Linked DNA regions of Homo sapiens: regions 1, 3, 4 and 5 are each linked to region 2. The links are contacts of gene promoters, found by promoter capture Hi-C in blood cells and fetal thymus (Javierre and others, 2016). All regions are on one chromosome and are shown on one strand. Each heading gives the region's core, a stretch centred on a gene start or on the middle of the fragment in contact. The rest is flanking DNA. Distances are from core to core; before and after follow the strand shown. Region 1 has its middle 28 kb from the start of ZMIZ2. Region 2 holds the start of MYO1G (myosin IG). Region 3 has its middle 15 kb from the start of DDX56. Region 4 overlaps OGDH (oxoglutarate dehydrogenase). Region 5 overlaps OGDH (oxoglutarate dehydrogenase).

Region 1 (2,700 bases), core at 151-2,650, 260 kb before region 2:
CTACCACCATGCCCAGCTAATTTTTTTGTTTTTTGGTTTTTGGGGTTTTTTTTGAGATGGAGTCTCACTCTGTCACCCAGGATGGAGTGCAGTGGTGTAATTTTGGCTCACTGTAACCTCCGTTTCCTGGGTTCAAGCAATTCTCCTGCCTCAGCCTCCTGAGTAGCTGGGATTACAGGGGTGTGCCACTGTGCCCAGCTAATTTTTGTATTTTTAGTAGAGACGGGGTTTCATCATGTTGTCCAGGTGGGTCTTGAACTCCTGACCTCGTGATCTGCCCGCCTTGGCCTCCCAAAGTGCTGGGATTACAGGCGTGAGCCACCACACCTGGCCATTTTTTTGTATTTTTAATAGAGACGGGGTTTCACCATCTTGGCCAGGCTAGTCTTGAACTCCTGACCTTGTGATCCACCCACCTCAGCCTCCCAAAGTGCTGGAATTACAGGTGTGAGCCACTGCACCTGGCCTAAAATAACCAGTTTCTCCAATCGTGTCCTGTTGCAAAAACAGACTCTTTTTTTGGGGGGGTGCGGGGACAGAGTTTTGCTCTTGTCACCAGGGTGGAGTGCAATGGCATGATCTCAGCTTACTGCAACCTCCGCCTCCCAGGTTCAAGCAATTCTGCCGCCTCAGCCTCCCGAGTAGCTGGGACAGCATACAGGTGCCCAGCACCATGCCTGACTCATTTTTGTATTTTTAGTGGAGACAAGGTTTCACCATGTTGCCCAGGGTGGTCTTGAACTCCTGACTTTGGGTGATCCACCTACCTCGGCTTCCCAAAGTCCCGGGATTACAGGCGTGAGGCACTGCGCCTGGCTAAAAACAGATTCTTATTGCACTTATGCCAATAACTACATCACCATAAGTTAAGAATACTCACAACTAGTTTCCAAATTCTGGAGAAACCAGGTAGAGAGAAACAAATATGCTCTAAATTTTGTTCACTTTACTCAATTGTTAAAAGCTGTAAATAGCTAAAAAGAAATTTTTTCTTAACTCTGAAAAACAAAGCAAAGGATTAGTAACATTTTAAGCAAATGTTAAAAAAGATTACTTCAGGCTTCTATTAGTTTATTACATGCAGTTAACTCCTGTTTGATATTCATGAACATTTCAGCTCTTCATGAGAGTCCTGAAAGTATTTTCCTCTACTCTAATGTCACAATCTCAAAAGTTATCAGAAACCTGCGTTTAAGAACATCTGTTAGAGTTCTATAGTTGATTATAAACCACCTTCTAAAGAGGACCAAAACAAGACAACAATTATTTATGGATGACAAAATGTCTTAGGACGGCCACAGTCAACAACACAATTGACAAAGAAATTTGGTTACCTCTGTGGAATACAATGACTTTATGTAACAATTATAATTATTAATAACATATACTAAGTCATATCTGAATTATGAGTTTCCCATTATTTTGGAACACATACCAAGAACATATTTATAAAAATACAGCCTCAAGAAAGCCAAATACCATTTCAATTTGACAATGTTTCCTGTATGATTTTTGTACCAAATAAGACAAACTTTCACCTTTACATTAGTGTATTATTAATGTTAAACCCAATTCTCAATAAAACCTTATAGACATATCTACCCAACGTCAATGTTTAACCATAAGGTAAGATTCTCATAAACCTTTTATAACCCTTTACAAATTTTTGTTAAAGAGCATATTATAAGCAGGTTTTTGCTTTAAGAAAAACATATTTTGCTTTTATTCCAATGTTTAATTTACAGAAAAACTGAATAATATCCCCTTAACTTTAGCCAATATATTCACGCACAGAATTTTTTTTTTTTTTAGACAGAGTCTCACTCTGTCATCCAGGCTAAAGTGCAGTGGCATGATCTTGGCTTACTACAACCTCCACCTCCTAGGTTCAAGTGATTCTCATGTCTCAGCCCCCTGAGTAGCTGGGATTACAGGCTCATAGCACCATGCCCAGCTAATGTTTTTTAATTTTTAGTAGAGACTGGGTTTTGCCATGTTGGCCAGGCTGGTCTTGAACTCCTGACCTCAAGTGATCCACCCGACTCAGCCTCCTCCCAAAATGCTGGGATTACAGGCGTGAGCCACCATGTCTGGCCCATACACTGAATTTTTTTAACAAGATTATTATTTTTTTCTGTTTTTTTTTTTTTTTTCCAAGATGGAGTCTCGCTCTGTTGCCCAGGCTGGAGTGCAGTGGCACAATCTTGGCTCACTGCAATCTCCACTTCCCAGGTTCAAGCAATTCTCCTGCCTCAGCCTCCTGTGTAGCTGGGACTACAGGCGTGTGCCACCATGCACAGCTAATTTTTTTTGTATTTTTAGTATAGATGGGGTTTCACCATGTTGTCCAGGCTGGTCTCGAACTCCCAACCTCAAGTGATCCACCTGCCTTTGCCTCCCAAAGTGGTGGGATTACGGGAGTGAGCCACCATGCCCAGTCTACAGGATTAATTTTTTACAAACCTTCCACAATTTGCTTAAACCTTCAGCTTTATTCCATCTAACTTAATACAATCATTTAACCCATTAATCTAGTCAAAAAAATGTACATTCCCATGACTTCTTATAATCTTTTACCAAAAACACATTTCACTTTTTTACACACCTTGCATGTAAAATTGTTTCTTCAGTAGTCTCAATTACATGTTACAGTGTTAACTCTTAGTGACTTTTACTTTTACTGCCAACCTTTGTAAGTTC
Region 2 (2,700 bases), core at 10-2,509:
CCCCTCAGACCCATCTCCCCTTGGTGTGTGGTACCCACCCTTCCCTGGATGGCCCTGTCTCCCGGCAGCCTGTCCTGGGTGGGCCTGTCCTGAGGTTCCTCTTTCTCCACCACCTCTGACATGGGTTTTCCTGGGCCTAGCTCCCATCCTCCTACAAGCTGGGGATGAGGGCACAAGTCACCCACGTCTCCAGGGCTCAGTGTTCTCCTCATCAAAATAGAGAGGACAATGTTTCATAAGCTCATTTTATAAGAATGAGGTAGAACAATGTGCACAAAGTGCTTAGCTCACGTCCTGGCTAGCCCTCCTCTTTGAGCCAGGCTCGTGGTCTCTTGCCTTCGGTGCTTAGTGGGGATCCTGGTCCCCAAGCTCTCCCCAGGGAGCTTCCGGAGTACACAGCGAGTGGCCTTCTGCCCCTCCCTGGGAGTCCTGGCAGGAAGCCCAGCTGCCTGTATGGCCACCCTACTGTGCCATGCCCCTACCTCCCGGGCTTCTCCCTGCCCTCCACCTGCCCTCCTTGATGGTAAATTGGGCTCCAATATCACTTCTACCAACTGTGTCCTGTGATACTCCATGTACCCCAGGAGAATGTCACCTCAACTTGGTGGGAATGTTTGGACCCTAGGGTGGAGCCTGACTGCTTCATCTCAGTGTCCCCAGGGCTCAGGCCAGGCCCCATGGATGAGATGCATCGAGGGAGCATCAACAACTGGCTGGGAAGTGGCTGGAGGGAGGTGCCCCTGGTCCCTCCTGGAAAGATAGTGCCTGGTATGTATCTGTCCAAGAAGTGTCATGCCCTGGCCCCGTCGGGCAGGAAAGAAGGGGCAGAAGATGCCTGGACTGTGTGGGAGGCAGGGGTGGGTTGAGGTGGTGGGCAGCTCCGGTGCTGACTTGCCAGCCCTGACAGGGACAGTTGCCTCCTTGTCTGTTCCTGTCCCCTGGGGCCGTGCTTTGAGGCACTCATTTCAGCCCCATCTGGTCTGGGTGGGTGTGTGCCACTGCCCCCTCCCTTGGACAGCAGCGTGCCTTCCTCTTTCCCTCAGGTCTCTGCGAGGACGCAAGGTGGGAGACCCTGGAGGAGGGGAGCCACTGCCTCCTGCCCTGGGCCTACCTGAGCTGCAGGTTCCTCATGAAGTCCTCCATGGTCACTTGGTCCAAAAGCACAAAGTCAGGTTTGCCATACTCAGGGCCTTCCTCGTCCTCCATCCTGCCGGCTGGAAACACCTTGCCTCACCTTCCTGTGCCTGCTGGAAGGACAGTGAAGGAGAGGGGGAGGGAAGGCTAGGGGAGGCCCCACCGCCCCCGCCCTGCCCCACCAGCCTCCTCCAGTGCTGGTGTAAAGTAGGAAGTGGGTTCTAGTCCTGGGAGGGGCTGCCCTCCGCACTTGCCACTCCTTCCCCCTCGAGGTGCTCTAAACCCTGCTTCCTGTCCCTGCGCCCCACAAGGAGGCTGTGCCTAACGGTCTGACCCGTTTGCACGCCAGGGGCGAGGGGCCGGATGCTGGGTCCTCCCCGCTTTGGAGGGTTCTTCGCTGGCCTCCTTCGGAAGCTCCCCTCCACCCACAAGCAGGAGACAAGACTCCGTGGGTTGGCTTCCAACCCTGGCAGCACGTTAGAGTCACTTGTGGGACTTTAAAGAAAGATTTTTTGACGTGATCTTGGTTACCTGGCTGTGTGTGTCTCTCAAGTCAGAACTGAACACTAGATGCAATATACTGTATGTACATTGTACATTAATACAAAAATGAAAAAGGATCCTAATGCCCAGGCCTTTGGGGTGGGGGCAACAGCCTTCTTTGCAGTGTGAAGGCCACACTGGGGTGTAGACGAGCAAAGCTTCTTGTGTGACCTGCCAAGGGCCAGTGGTCCTAGCACTGCAATTCCCCACCCCAGCCACGGGGGAGGGACAGAGGACCCCAGAGCATCCTCTGCATGGGGCTGGCCTTCAGTGGGACCCCTGTGCCCCTAACTGTCCTCTGCCTTGTACTTGTGTCCAGCCGATCCCCCATAAACTGCAGTGAGGACCAGGAACATGCCTGGAGCCCTGTGGCCTCATCTCAGAGCTGCTGTCCCTGCACTTTGAAGATGAGGCAGCGCATTTGGGGAGCGGCTGCATTTAGGGAGTGGCCAAAATCTCCAGACACTGCATTCCTGACACTTAGTGCTCCTGGAAGAAGTGGGAGGGGTGCAGTTCTCTTAGCTTCCAGGCAGACTGGAAAAAGTTCTTTTTCATCCCAGGACAGACTGGGGCAGGTCACACCCATCCTCTAGGAACACTGGGGCGATTCTCTCATCAAAGGTCAAATGGATGCAGTTCTCTCTCATCCTACAAATAGACTGGTGACATTTCTCTTTCACCCCTTCCCTCATACAGGGAGGTCAAAGGGCAGACTCCAGAATTCCCAAACTTCAGTCATTCATGTGCTGCCTTTGAGATTTGTTGTACTCATAAGCACTAGTTTAACTATTGTCTTTCAGTCATCCCATTTTTTAAACTTTGAAGTAATGGATAGGCAAGTTAAGTTTATTTTTTTCTCTCGAATACCTTAAAGCAAATGCATTCCTGATAAAACTGAAAGTACTTATTCAAGTACCTAATAAAACTGAGTCACGCACCACTGCAATAAGGGGCCACTGGCCTGAAAAATCCCCAAATTTGTAAGTGGGCAGCCTCTGGCTCCACCCTGGGCCAGACCTGGGG
Region 3 (2,700 bases), core at 130-2,629, 420 kb before region 2:
TAGTGCTGCAATGAACAGACGTGTGCATGTGTCCTTATGGCAGAACAACTTACATTCCTTTGGGTATATACCCAGTAATGGGATTGCTGGGTCGAATGGTAGTTCTGCCTTTAGGTCTCTGAGGAATTGCCACGCTGCTTTCCACAATGGTTGACCTAATTTACACTCCCACCAACACTGTACAAGTGTTCCCTTTTCTCTATGACCTTGCCAGCATGTTATTTTTTCTTTTTTTTACTTTTTAATAATAGCCATTCTGGCTGATGTGAGATGGTATCTCATTGTGGTTTTGATTTCTGTTTCTTTAATGATCAGTGATATTGAGTTTTTTTTCAAATGTTTGTTGGTTGCATGTATGTCTTCTTTCGAAAAGTGTCTAGGAATGAGATACTGTCACCACTTCTATTCAACATAGTGTTAAAAGTTCTAACCAGAGCAATTTGGCAAAAATGAAATGAAAAGAAAAGAGAAAAGAGAGAAAGAGAGAGAGAGAAAGAGAGGGAGAGAGGGAGGGAGGGAAAAGGGAAGGGGAAGGGAAAGGGGAAGGGGAGGGAGGAAGGAAAAGAGTGTCCAAATTAGAAAAAAATTAAACTTATCTCTATTTGCAGATAGATTTTATATTCTAAAACAGTAAATACGCCACTGAAAATGTATTATAACTTGTCTGAGTGTGGTGGAGCATGCCTATAATCCCAGCACTTTGGGAGACTGAGGCAGGACAATCACTTGAGCCCAGGAGTTTAAGACCAGCCTGGGCAACAACGTGAGACCCCATCTCTACAAAAAATAAAATAATTAGCCAGGCATGCTGGCATGCCTGTAGTCCCAGCTATTCAGGAGGCTGAGGCAGGAGGACTGTTTGAGTCCTGGCAATGGAGACTGCAGTGAGCTATAACCGTGCCACTGCACTCCAGCCTAGACAACAGGGTGAGACCCTATCTTGAAAATTTTTTTTAATAAAAAAAATTACTAGAACTAATAAATGAACTTGGCAAAATTATAGGATACAAAATCAATACACAAAAATCAGATGCATTTCCTTCCTTCCTTTCCTTTCCCTCCCTCCCTCCCTCTCTCTCTCTCTCTCTTTTTCTTTCTTTTCTTCTTTCTTTCTTCCTATCTGTCTTTTTTCTTTTTGAGACAGGGTCTCACTTTTTCACCCAGGCTGGAGTGCAGTGACACGATCATCACTAACTGCAGCCTTGACCTCCCAGGCTCAAGCAGTTCTCCCACCGTAGCCTTCGGAGTAGCTAGGAGGGACTACAGGTGCTCATCACCATGCCTAGCTAATCTTCCCCCTCCCTCCTTCTCCTCCCCCCTCCCCCCTCCCCCCTCCCCTCCCCTCCCCTCTCCTTTCCTTTCCTTGACAGGGTCTTGATCTGTCGCCCAGGCTGGAGTGCAATGGCGTGACTCAGCTCACTGCAACTTACGCCTCCCCAGTTCTAAGTGATTCCCTTGCCTCAGCCTCCCGAGTAAGTAGAATTACAGGTGTGCCACCATGCCCAGCTAATTTTATATTTTTAGTAGAGACAGGGTTTCACCATGTTGGCCAGGCTGGTCTCGAACTCCTGACCTCAGGTGATCCACCCGCCTTAGCCTCCCAAAGTGCTGGGATTACAGGCGTGAGCCACTGCACCCAGCCCCTGGCTAATTTTTTTAATTTTTATTTTTAGAGATGGCATTTCACTGTGTTGCCCAGGCTGGTCTTGAACTCCTGGCCTCAAGTGATCCTCACTCTTCAGCCTCCTGAATTGCTGGGATTATAAGTGAGGGCCACCATGCCTGACTTTAGCACCACTTATCTTGACACATGAAAAAGATAAACCATTCTGTTCCCACTGTTCCTGCCATCTGGTGGTCTCTTACTTGCAGCTGTATACACTCCTAACTGATGTACCTGTAATTCCCTGCTGTCCACCACCTGACTATTAGCACCCCTTCTCCTACTGTTGCCCCACAGCAGAGTCCTCAACCTCAACACTACGGACATTTTCAACCACAGAACTCTCTTGTGGGGGCTGCCTTGTACATTGCATGATTTTAACAGTATCCCCGGCCTCTTCCCACCTAAAGCCAGTAGCATCCATTGCCCAGATATGATAACCTAAAATGTTTCTTGGCTGGCACAGTGGCTCACACCTGTAATCCCAGCACTTTGGGAGGCTGAGGCGGGCAGATCACTTGAGGTTAGGAGTTCATGACCAGCCTGGCCAACATGGTGAAACCCCATCTCCTAAAAATACAAAGATTAGCTGGGTGTGGTGGCACATGCCTGTAGTCCCAACTACTTGGCAGGCTGAGGCAGGAGAATCACTTGAACCCGGGAGGTGGATGGAGGTTGTAGTGAGCCAAGAACACACCACTGCACTCCAGCCTGGGCAACGGAGCAAGACTCTGTCTCAAAAAAAAAAAAACAACAATATTTCTATACTTTCCCAAAAGCCCCACTGGGGCAAATCTGGCCAAGAACCACCACCCTGCAGGAAGCCTGTGCTAAGCCAACTAATCTGCTCCCTCCACCCAGCTCTGCTATAACCAAGCCAAGCCTGTCTCTCAGGCTTCTCCGGGCCTTCCCAACGCCTGCGCATACAATCTCCTTGGCAGTGAGGATTTCTACCACCACCCAGGCCTGAGTGGTCTCTCCCTCCTCTGGCCATGATAGCAGGGGTTGGCTGTCTCCCTTGGCACTTGGCCTAACCA
Region 4 (2,904 bases), core at 297-2,796, 330 kb before region 2:
CACATTGCAAAACTTGATCCTCTCGGAATTAGTTGTGTAAATTTTGATGATGCTCCAGTAACTGTTTCTTCAAACGTGGGTGAGAATTAAGCTGTAAATGCTAATTTTAATGTAATTTTACTTTTTTTTTACCCCTTCCCTCTTTTTTTTTCTTCTGTCCTTTTGTGTGTGTCCTTCCCTCTCATCGTTGGCCACTCATAGATACGAGGGCACCATGTAGCACAGCTGGACCCCCTGGGGATTTTGGATGCTGATCTGGACTCCTCCGTGCCCGCTGACATTATCTCATCCACAGACAAACTTGGTGAGGGTCTGAGAGCAGTCAGCTGCGTTGCTTGAGCTCCTCTCGCTGTGCCACGACCTGTGGTAGCCAGGATGTCCAGGCAGGAGGGAAAGGCTCTTAAGTTTCCTTTCATTCTGATCACTTGAAATTTATCGGTATTGTAGCCTTAGTGTGTTTTGGGCAAGTTATTTTTATCTTACTTTTTCAGCCAGATTGTCTTAAGTCTCAAAATTTGAAAATAAAATTTTGGACAGAAAGGTTTGTGGCACAGGGAAAAAGCTTGTCCACCTGGGGCAGGTGGATCAGAAGCACTTCAGAGTATAGCTCTTTTGGCTTCAGGTTTTCAAATGTCAGTGCAGCACTGCCTTCAGTGAGGCATGTCCATGAGGCCTTGCTCAGGAACTGCTGACACAGCCATCCTTTTCTGAAGCCCAGTGTGGCCTGCCCTTGACTGGAGGCCATGTCCCTTAGGGGACGAATTCTAGAGCAAGTTGTGCAGTTGGGTCTCCTGATTTGTAATTGCTGGTGATCACACTGAGGAAACTTTGGAAGGCATTCCCACAGCGTCAGGAGGTCAGGGCCTTTGGGAGGTGCATGTATGGAGCACACTGGGGTTTTGTCACGGTTGCCAGAAGATAGTCCCACCTACACCCCCTCCTCCTCATGAAGTGAGGTGGGTGTTGTGGCTGGGCTCTCACCTGCAGTTGCTTTGCAGAGTTAGTCTGCTTTATGTCACTGTGCTGCTAACCTGTACTAAAGAAATGATGATGTGACTAATTTTTAAATGGCCAGGGTGTTCACAATAGACACTGTGCATGCTGATGAAATTGATGATCACTTACTTGCCTAATACTCCTCTTGGGATGGGTACGAAATTAGCCTCCTCACAGGCACTTTTGGGGAATGGTACAGACAGTCTCTAAGGCTCTGCAGTGCCTGGATATCTTTATAGGCATTACTAAGTTATGTCTAGGGGATGAGGCATTAATCATCAAACATCATTGACTTTGGAATTGGCATTGATGGTTTGTAATTGTTTTTTTAATACCAGCCCTTTAGCGGATTTAGGAAGGGAGTTTAGAGAAATCCTCTTGAATTTTATTGATTAAGGCCAGTTCAGATGGTAGACTGGGCATGAGTTGAACCCTGCTTTTTCATTCCGTGGTGACAACTTTGTGCTCCCAAGAAGAGGGCCTCTCTTTGCAGTGTCCCCGGAGGTCTTGGAGCCTCTTCCCTACTGCTCACCCCTTAGTACAGCAAACCTCCCTGCTGGCACCCCCAGTCCCATCACAGCCTGTCTGCCCTGTGCCTCTCCAGCCCCCAGAGACTTCTAGACCTGTGGGATCCTCTTCAGGTGCTCAGAGCAGGCCAAACTCCCCAGCTGGTAGACTTGCTGCTCCCTGATGAAGAGCACAGGGACTTGCATCTGGAAGCCACCTCTTCAGAGGAAAACCTCCCTCTGCATTTAGGCAGGGTAGGAGAGCTGCGGAATGCTCATTTTCTGTTGTTTTTTTTTTTTTTTTTTTTTTGAGATGGGGTCTTGCTCTGTCACCCAGGCTGGAGTGCAGCAGCATAATCTCGGCTCACTGCAACCTCTGCCTCCCAGGTTCAAGCAGTTCTCCTGCCTCAGCCTCCTGAGTAGCTGGGACTACAGGAGCGCACCACCACACCCAGCTAATTTTTGTATTTTTAGTAGAAACGGGGTTTCACCATGTCGCCCACCTCAGCCTCCCAAAGTGCTGAGATTACTGGTGTGAGCCACCGCGCCTGGCTGGAATGCTCATTTTTTACAAGCAGCAAAACATTCGAACAGGAGAGGAGCAGATGAAGTGACTGACTTCTCCCTCTCCTTCCAGAACCTGCATTGTCCCAGCTCTTTGTCCCAACTGTGCACGTTAGTATAACCAGGGGAGCTCTAAAGCTCTCCTCTCTTCCCCTTCAGACTAATATCAAGAGGGGCCACACCTAGGTAAACCCAACCCAGCATAGTCTTTTAAGGGTGAGAAACCCTAAGCACTGTCAACATACGCACTAATTTCCCATCTCATTAGTGGCCGAGGCAGGGCCAGAATCTGGGAATCTCTTCCCAGGCCATCACAAGGTCTTACCATATATTTCACTCTGGAATAGTGTCCTCAGTATTTCTGTGAGGTTTGTGGTTCCAGATTCAGCAACAACATCATGGTGAGGGTGAGAGGACAAGAGGACTTTATAAACCAAGAAACTAAAACATACAGAAGTGGCCCTAAAGCTTCCTGAAATCCTTTGAGGAGGAAAACTTCTGACATCTCTGGCCAGGAGCCCTTTGGAACCACTGAGAGAGAGAGTCAGGGAGTAGTCTCCACGTTTCAAGAGGAAGGTGCATTTTAATCCTGTGGATTTGAAATAGTGTGACCTAAAAATCCCACTAGTCTTCAGGTACAAAAAATGGAAACCGCGTAAACTTGTTAAAACATTTGTATCTGTAGGAAAATTGGTCTCGAACTCTCACCCTTGATGTATGCAGGTCTTCAAGAAAACAGCAGGTCAGATGTGACCGCTAGACAGTTTGTAGAACACTTCAAGACCCGTCGTCTCATTTGAACCTCAGAGAGCCGGGACTCTGGAGCCACACTCCCTGC
Region 5 (2,859 bases), core at 147-2,646, 350 kb before region 2:
ACTGAAGACTGTGGTTGCAGATTGTGGCAGATTTCACACACACACACCCCTACACACACACACACACACACACACACCCCTACACACACACACACACACACACACCCCTACACCTGCAGATTATATCTAGAATAAAACTGAGCCCTGAGGTTTCAGAATCAAGGACTATTATGTGCCCAGGCCTATTCTTTTGCCTTCCTTTTCTCAAACATAACCTTTTCTTGGAACCAACCAAGTTGTTTTCAGTGATGTTAGGATTTGGAGTCAGTAGCTCCTAAATGACAGTGCCTAGTGTCTGAAAGGTAAAGAGCACCTGGCTGAGACTGCATGTCCTTGTGAAGGTTTGGTCCTCAGTGATTCATGGGTAAAAGGTGCACTCTGTGAGCAGTGTGGCCACAGTGCTGTGGACACTGGGCCTGTTGCCATCATAGCTGCTCCTGCTGGAAGCTTTTGAAGATGGTTTTTGTGGGGGCATGGTGGCTTTATGTCTTTATGCCTGTTTCTGTTGCTGGGAGTCTCCAGGGGGCACAGTGTGGGAATCACATGCATGCTCTGCCCCTCCCTGCTTGTAGAGGGGAGGGGACAGGATGGTTAAAAGTGGGCGTGCCCTCCAGCAATCCCGGTTGTCATCCAGCACGGACTTCATCACTCCTCTGCCATCCCAGACGGCAAGGTGGGTCCTCTTTAAGTTGAATTGGGCCCAGTATGTGGTGTGTGCATGTTTTTTGTTTGTTTGTTTTTTTGTTTTGTTTTGTTTTTGAGATGGAGTCTCACTCTGTCGCTCAGACTGGAGTGCAGTGGTGCAATCTCAGCTCACTGCAACCTCCACCTCCGAGGCTCAAGCGATTCTCCTGCCTCAGCCTCCTGAGTAGCTGGGATTACAGGCCTGTGCCACCACGCCCGGCTAATTTTTGTATTTTTAGTAGAGACGGGGTTTCACCATGTTAGTCGGGCTGGTCTTGAACTCCTGGCCTCGTGATCCGCCTGCCTTGGCCTCCCAGAGTGCTGGGATTACAGGCGTGAGCCACGGCGCCTGGCCATGTGCATGTTTTTCAAGGGAGATAATCCATAACTTCTGTCCAAATTTCAAAGCATCTGTCACCCATGAAAGTTTAGGATCCATAGCCTTAGAGGCATTTCACTTTATTTGTGCTCTTATTTTAGATCACATAGTTTAAATAGACATAATAATAGTTTAAATAGAGATAATAAAATTAGAAGTGCTGTAGGATTTAGATAGATCATCTATCTCATCTTCTGTTTAAACATCAGAAATGTCCTGAGGTCGGATTCCGTACTTATTTTCAGAGAGCTTATGGGGGGCTGCAAGGACTAAACTCATATAGCAGAAAAGGAACAAACTCAGCATCTTCCTCTCCTGCCCTTTGGCACTACTTTCCCATTGTTGTTTTTATTTTTATTTATTTTATTTATTTTTTTGAGATGGAGTCTCACTCTGTCACCCAGGCTGCAGTGCAGTGAGGTGATCTCAGCTCACTGCAACCTCCACCTCCTGGTTCAAGTGATTCTCGTGCCTCAGCCTCCCGAGTAGCCAGGATTACAGATACGCGCCACCACGCCTGGCTAATTTTTGTATTTTTAGTAGAGACGGGGTTTCACCATGTTGGCCAGGCTGGTCTCAAACTCCTGACCTCAATCAGTCTGCCCACCTCAGCCTCCCAAAGTGCTGGGATTACAGGCGTGAGCCACTGCACCCAGCCCCATTGTTATTTTTAAATCTGTGTTTTATAGTGTTTCCAAGCATACATAACAGTAGAGAGAAGAGTAGATGATAAGCCTAATGAGGAGACTGGTCACGCAGCTTCAACAGCTGTCTTAAAAATCTATTCCCTACCCCAGTGACTTTTTTATTTGTTGGTTTATTTGGGGTTTGAGGAGAGTAGACACTGGAGTATTTTAAGGCAAATTCCAGACCTGTGTCATTTCTGGCATAAATGCATCAGTGTAACTAACTGTTAAGTAATTGTTTTCATAACCACACCCAATAAAATTAACAGGCTAATTCTCTAATAGAATTTTTTCTCAGTCCATGTTTAAATATTTACTCTTCTCTTAAAGCTGCCCTTTTACATTTTGTTTTGTTTTGTTTTTTAATTTTTATTTTACTTTTTTTTACATTTGGTTTTACACTTTATAATTGGTCGTTGTATTCCTTATTTTTAATTTTATTTATTTTTTAATTAAAAACTTTTTTTTAATGTAAGTAGGAGCCATGCCTGTAATCCTGATACTTTGGGAGGCTGAGGCAGGAGGATTGCTTGAGTCCAGGAGTTTGGGACCAGCCTGGACAAGGCAAGGCCTTGTCTCTATTAAAAATAAAATAGAAAGCTTTTTAAAAAAATAAAAAAATGTAAATAGAGATGGAGTCTCTTTATGTTGTCCAGACTGGTCTTGAACTCCTGGGCTCAAGCAATCCTCCCAGCTTGGCCTCCCAAAGTGCTGGGATTACAGATGTGAGCCACCACACCCAGCCTCTTAAAAAAAACTTCTATTCTTAAAATGCTTAACTGATGTGAAAATTATATTTGTGGTAAAATATTTTAGCAAATCAGAGCTGCAAGTACCTTTTTTACCCTAAGTCCACTCCCCAGAACAGAATCCGGTTAACTAGCTGACCTGGGTCTGTCTCTGTGGTGGGCCCATCTGCCATCTCCCTTTTGTTCCTACCTTTGGTCCTGTCCTAGACTTTCGTCTCTGTTCTAGTCTGGCATTTGTGCTCCTCACTGACCCCTCTTAAGAGCCTTCAGCGGTGGCCTGGGCTGTCAGCCTATGAAACCCTCCTCATTAGGGTCTCAGCATATTTGAGGTCACATCAAATGATGACATCTTTATTTATGT

What was found. Contacts are between HindIII fragments. The CHiCAGO score rates a contact against its expected background, and 5 or more counts as called.
Region 1: a contact is called between a fragment that was not itself captured here and the fragment with the promoter of MYO1G in region 2, in 1 of 17 cell types (activated CD4 T cells). The highest score is 5.3, in activated CD4 T cells.
Region 3: a fragment that was not itself captured here is called in contact with the fragment with the promoter of MYO1G in region 2 in 6 of 17 cell types (neutrophils, naive B cells, total CD4 T cells and 3 more); the score reaches 7.0 in neutrophils.
Region 4: a fragment that was not itself captured here is called in contact with the fragment with the promoter of MYO1G in region 2 in 4 of 17 cell types (total CD8 T cells, monocytes, total B cells and 1 more); the score reaches 7.6 in total CD8 T cells.
Region 5: a fragment that was not itself captured here is called in contact with the fragment with the promoter of MYO1G in region 2 in 2 of 17 cell types (monocytes and total B cells); the score reaches 5.8 in monocytes.

What each region holds. Positions count from the first base shown.
Region 1 is chr7:44,719,549-44,722,248 of GRCh38, forward strand. No RefSeq gene overlaps it. Among named protein-coding and RNA genes, the nearest start is that of ZMIZ2, 28 kb to the right of the region's middle. The HindIII fragment of the contact is 5,346 bases long and covers 1-2,700 here.
Region 2 is chr7:44,977,756-44,980,455 of GRCh38, forward strand. MYO1G (myosin IG) reads right to left here and starts at 1,260. Exons shown (of 22, transcript NM_033054.3): 1 at 1,112-1,260. The coding sequence starts at 1,206. RefSeq lists a silencer at 1,203-1,292 and enhancers at 1,493-1,562, 1,593-1,642. The HindIII fragment of the contact is 4,854 bases long and covers 1-1,833 here.
Region 3 is chr7:44,557,143-44,559,842 of GRCh38, forward strand. No RefSeq gene overlaps it. Among named protein-coding and RNA genes, the nearest start is that of DDX56, 15 kb to the right of the region's middle. The HindIII fragment of the contact is 4,749 bases long and covers 1-2,700 here.
Region 4 is chr7:44,647,456-44,650,359 of GRCh38, forward strand. It overlaps OGDH (oxoglutarate dehydrogenase), which reads left to right. Exons shown (of 23, transcript NM_002541.4): 4 at 202-304. Among named protein-coding and RNA genes, the nearest start is that of OGDH, 42 kb to the left of the region's middle. The HindIII fragment of the contact is 1,972 bases long and covers 561-2,532 here.
Region 5 is chr7:44,626,256-44,629,114 of GRCh38, forward strand. The region is part of intron 2 of OGDH (oxoglutarate dehydrogenase); the gene reads left to right. Among named protein-coding and RNA genes, the nearest start is that of OGDH, 21 kb to the left of the region's middle. The HindIII fragment of the contact is 1,902 bases long and covers 446-2,347 here.